2 separate regions of the Homo sapiens genome follow, and region 2 is linked to region 1. Evidence: promoter capture Hi-C in human tissues and cell types (Jung and others, 2019). All regions are on one chromosome and are shown on one strand. Each heading gives the region's core, a stretch centred on a gene start or on the middle of the fragment in contact. The rest is flanking DNA. Distances are from core to core; before and after follow the strand shown. Region 1 holds the start of RANBP3L (RAN binding protein 3 like). Region 2 has its middle 69 kb from the start of RANBP3L.

Region 1 (2,700 bases), core at 94-2,593:
AGGAGAAGTTAGAAGTGTCTGGTGAATCCTTAACCTCTGTGGAGTGATGATGTCATCCATGAGAGACCCAGCCTTTCCCACAAGTGTCATTTGCTGTCCCTGACAGGGTGGATTGGAGGGATCATCTTGTCTATTCATGTCAACCATCTGACACTAACTCAGCTGGCTGGAGAGTGGATTTGAAAATTTAAAAAGACTGATGGTGAAAATGGCTGGGAGGTAGATAGTTTAGTTTGAATGAGTGCCCAGCAAGTGAAATGTGACACTTTTCCCTGACTGTCTCCAGATGTCCCTGGACCATAAAAAGGAAAGAGTCAAGAATATATTTATTTTTCCCACAATGAATGAGCCAGAGATCCAGACAAACTTAGGCTTAAACAAAGTGAAAAAAGTGTCCCACCAGTGGTACTATGGTAGAGAAAGCTCCAGGCTAACTTAAAGCTACTCTCAGCTGAAATCCCCCTTGTAGCTGACTCAGCCTTGCTCAGATGGGTGTTTTGAATTAGACAAAATCTAGCATACTCTAAAAAACACAGTGGCTAGAAGTTTAAGCATGTAAGTTTCAGAATGACAGCTCCAAGGAATATGCATTCTTGACAGTCTTCCATAGTCCTCTAAAAATCAATAGTGAATCCAAGTTAACCCACCCTTATGCATCACTATTATGTCAGAGCTTCCCCGGGTCCTTCACCAGCCCACCATTCTTCCTGGAATGCAAATGCACAGAAGGTCACAGAATATGCAACTCATGAGCTGGACGGACTCACCTTGCTGTCGCCGGTCCTCCTGCAGCTTCAGTTTACAGGTGTGCAAACTGCCAGGCAGGTGGCTGCTGCCTTTTCTTGGTATGGTAGTCATGGTCCTAGCAGTATGGCTGTGACTCAAGGATCACTAGGGCACCTCCTTCTCTGGCCAGTCACCTAAAGTGGCCTTCACCAGACACCCAGAAATACATAGATTCATGCAGATCTTGTCTTTGCATGTACAACATATACTCCTCTACTAAACTTCCAAGCTTTTTCCAGTCATGATTCTTGAAATAAATAATCACCAATGTTACTTCTCCTAAATATAAAGATGCCAATTCATTTGGTTAAAAACACAACTTAATTCCTTCATTTCAAAACAAATTGAAACTAAACCTCCTTATAGAGTAAAATTCTACAAATTAACTATTTCTAACAGATTACACTTTTGTCATTTTTAAATTCCTTTTGGCGACATGAAATCCAATGCCTCCAGTATTTAGAGAAGGCTGCTAAAATAATACAGACACAAAGAAAAGAAAAAGTGCTGCTGAGTTAAGTCAAGTGATTTCTAAGCCTGATCTGAGTTACCCTCTGTGACAGCTGAAAGTGTACAGTTCTTAAGGGACTCTGGAAGGAGGAGGAGCAAAGTGGGCTAGGATGATTAGCATAAAGAGGCAGGCAAGACGGGCATTGGAGCTGCTTTGAATAATAGTGAACAAAGCACAGATTCTAAAGATGCCCTGCCCTTATGTTACAGTAACTGAGTACCTGATTTCTGCTACTTTGTTTGTAATTAAAATGCAAGCTGAAAGCAGGAGTTTATACTGCAAGGACATTCATTTGTGCATGTGAAATCTAAAAGGTATAAATGGAACTGGTAATGAGCTCATGGAAATGTACTGCTGGAACTTTCAATTTCTGTAAACACCTCCTAGTCTTCGGAAGGGAGCAGTTAGAGGGCAGCCTTCCTGCCAAGGCAACTATTTGGAGTTCTGGAAGAAAAATAAACACACAAAACATTATCTTTCCAGAGTCCTATTTCTGTTTCCCACTTAGAGTTCTTATTGCTACTTCTAGGTCATAGGAGAAAGTAATTTCCAGTTTTACTCGTTGGCTATTTCCTTACTGTTTGGAAACATAAACCCCAAACACCATTAATTTAACTTGAGAGCTTGCCATAACTGAAGTCATAATGAATGCTGGTAGGTCCTGCCCTTCAAGAGTCACAGCTCTTCGCAGATTCAGAAAGAAGGTAGTGGGCAGGACTAAGGAGAAAGGCAGAGCTGTTTAGCCTCGAAGTCTGGACTCTGCAGCTTCTTATGTGCATTTGGAAATTGGTGTTAAACTTGACACTGTAATGAATTTACCTCCTAACCAGATCTGGGTGGCTGCCCTCATTTTACTTTGAGGCAATTAACAATTCCCCAAGTATAGTCTGGTTTATGAAAATTTTTATGAAGTAGGTGATTGATCTTTTATAATTCTTGAATGCTTTAATTGTTTCAGTAGTCTATCTACTGCAGTTTTAGGCTAATCACAGTGTAACAGATGACAGAAGTGTTGTGCTACTTTGAAAGAGAGTCTTGTTATTGGAGAGTCATAGTTTCTACTTTAAATGTCTGCTATTCATCTCATCTTCCACAAAAGCCATGGTGGAGAGACAAGGTGATTTTTCCTGAATATGTAAAGTTATTGTTATTCTATCAAGTTATGTACCTCACTAATAAGCATATTATTATACAGGTAAGTTAAATAACCTACAAAACTGTAAGCCAGCCCTTTTGAGAAATACATTTAAAATGTTTTATGATGAAAAAATTTAAAAATACATGAATAGGAGAGAATAGCACAATAAGCCCTGCATACTCATCACTTGGCTTCAATATTATCAACTCATAGACAATCGTGTCTTAAAACTATGTGTTTCATTATAGCTGTTCTCCCCCTTATT
Region 2 (2,700 bases), core at 137-2,636, 69 kb after region 1:
ATGAATGCCTATATCCTTATACTTCTCAGCTAATAACTTAGGTGCCCTTTTCTCACAAAGGCTGAGGCAGATGTGATGCGTTCCTTAGGCCACCAGAATGTGGGTTTGAGGATTCATCTTGAAACCAAACAAATTTTGATAATTACAGAGCAAGTAGAGCTGCTTACATTTTGCTCTGTTGTGTCAAAGGTCACTTAGTCCCTAAGTCTTTCAAAGAAAAGCCTGGACAAGTTACTGAGCATGACCTCCTGGGCTGGTTGCCCAATAAATTTGCTTTAGCATTAGGTTATCCTGTAGTTTAGCAAAAGGGAGTCATCCAAGAATAGACGCTAAAAGCCTTTTGATGGGAATAGGAAATAGGGAATCTGATTTCAGGTAAGCCTATGGGAATTTCCTATAGCAAGTTAGGTCCTAGGAGTGACACATCATGGTGGGCATTTTGCCCAGGCTTTTCAGATTGCCTTGTAAAAAGTCTCAGGAGGCTAAACTCAGTTATCAGCCTCTGCAACCATAAAATTTCAGGGACACATTTCCCTCATCAAGCACCCTTCCAAGGACACTGGTGAGCATAACAAGGTCTCCCTTCAATGAGTAATCAATACCACTGCATTTGGATCACAAAGAACTCAGACAGTTGCTCTTTTCAAATCTTTGTTTGCAGCACATAACTCTTCACCACCTGCAAGTCTCTATCTTTATATTCAAATGGCTAAAACCTACACACTCTACACCAGAATTTTCCAGTGGAATTTTCTGTACTAATAGAAATATTCTATTCTGCACTGTCCAAAATACTAGCCACTAGCTCTATGTGCTACTGAGCACTTGAAACATGGCTACTGTGACTGAGGAACTGCATTTTAATTGGATTTCATTTTTTGCTTACTTTTACTTTAGTTTCAGGGGTAGATGTGCAGGTTGGTTATATAGGCAAATTGTGTGTCATGGGAGTTTGGTGTACAGATGATTTTGTCACCCAGATAATGAGCATGGAACCTGACAAGTAGTTTTTTTATCCTCATCCTCCTCCCACTCTCCACCCTCAGGTAGCCCCAGGTGTCTCTTGTTCTCTTCTTTGTGTCCATATGTACTCAGTGTTTAACTCCCCCTAATAAGTGAAAACATGTGGTGTGTGGTTTTCTCTTCCTGTGTTAGTTCACTTAGGAAAATGACCTCCTGTTCTAGCCATGTTCCTGCAAAGGATAGTATCTCATTCTTTTTCATGGCTGCATAGTATTCTGCGGTGTATATGTACATTTTCTTTATCCAGTTTACTGTTAAGAGTATTAATGTTGATTCTATTTCTTTGCTGTCATGAATAGTGCTGCGATGAAGATACATGTGCATGTGTCTTTATGGTAGCACAATTTATATTCCTTAGGTTATATACCCAATAATGGGATTGCTGGGTCAAACGGTAGTTCTGTTTTTTTTGTTTTTTGTTTTGTTGTTGTTGTTGTTGTTGTTTTTTGAGACAGAGTCTCTGTCACCAGGCTGGACTGCAGTGGCACAATCTCAGCTCACTGCAACCTCCGCCTCCCAGGTTCAAGCGATTCTCCTGCTTCAGCTTCCCGAGTAGCTGGGACTACAGGTGCGTGCCACCATGCCCAGCTAATTTTTGTATTTTTAATAGAGACCGTGTTTCACCATGTTGGCCAGGATGGTCTTAATCTCTTGACCTCGTGATCTGCCCGCCTCGGCCTCCCAAAGTGCTGGGATTACAAACATGAGCCACCACGCCCAGCCTCTGCTTTAAGTTCTTTGAGAAATTGCCAAACTGCTTTCCACAGTGGATAAACTAATTTAAATTCCCACCAGCAGTGTATAGGTGTTCCCTTTTCTCCACAACCTTGCCAGCATCTGTTATTTTTTGACTTTTTAATAACGGTCATTCTGACTAGGATGGGATGGTATCTCACTGTGGTTTTGACTTGCATTTCTCTAATGATTAGAGATGTTGAGCATTTTTTCATTTGCTTGTTGGCAGCATGTATGTCTTCTTTTGAATATTATCTCTTGATGTCCTTTGCCCTCTTTTTAATGGGGTCATTTGTTTTTCACGTGTTAATTTGTTTAAGTTCCTTATAGCGAATTTCATCTTGATTCATTTAAGTTCTCACATGCTATTAGTGGATACTACTGGACAGCTCAGCTTTACACAATTGAAATATATATAAACACAAAAGAGAACAAGTGAAGTAATACTTTAAGTATTCTAAAATTATAAAAATAATATATTGTCAATAAAGATAAATTTAAAAATAGACACATGTAAGAGGGAAATGCTAAAAACACTCCTATCTCAACATCTAAATGTAAGCACTATTGACATTGTGACATATGCTCTTTCAGTTATTTCTCTTCCATTGTATGTTAGAAACGAAAATAGTGCAAGACAGCCAATATATCTTCAGAATGATCAAGGGAACATGAAAACCCCAGATGAACTCGGTTTAAATGGATTATAATCGGTATGCCAGGATCTGCCCCTTGCACAGATGACAGGCCAGGTGGCTGCCCTGTAGGGTGAATGACCACTCACGTCTGCGCATAAATCATTTCCCCATAAACTATCTTGATGCCCTATGTTCCCGTAGTATTTAGAATGGTGTACATCTGTTAAAAGCTAAATATTATGTGCAGCACTTCACATTTCAGCTTTTAGCATTTTATGGGGGCACTATCTAGACTGTCAAACCC

The links. Contacts are between HindIII fragments. The study calls those that stand out against the background at their distance.
Region 2: a fragment that was not itself captured here is called in contact with the fragment with the promoter of RANBP3L in region 1 in 2 of the 25 tissues and cell types used here (dorsolateral prefrontal cortex and liver).

Annotation. Positions count from the first base shown.
Region 1 is chr5:36,300,559-36,303,258 of GRCh38, forward strand. It overlaps RANBP3L (RAN binding protein 3 like), which reads right to left and starts at 1,344. Exons shown (of 14, transcript NM_145000.5): 1 at 768-1,344. The coding sequence starts at 858. All of the region lies in intron 1 of LOC124900962 (a long non-coding RNA gene), which reads left to right. The HindIII fragment of the contact is 10,640 bases long and covers 1-2,700 here.
Region 2 is chr5:36,369,072-36,371,771 of GRCh38, forward strand. No RefSeq gene overlaps it. Among named protein-coding and RNA genes, the nearest start is that of RANBP3L, 69 kb to the left of the region's middle. The HindIII fragment of the contact is 7,235 bases long and covers 1-2,700 here.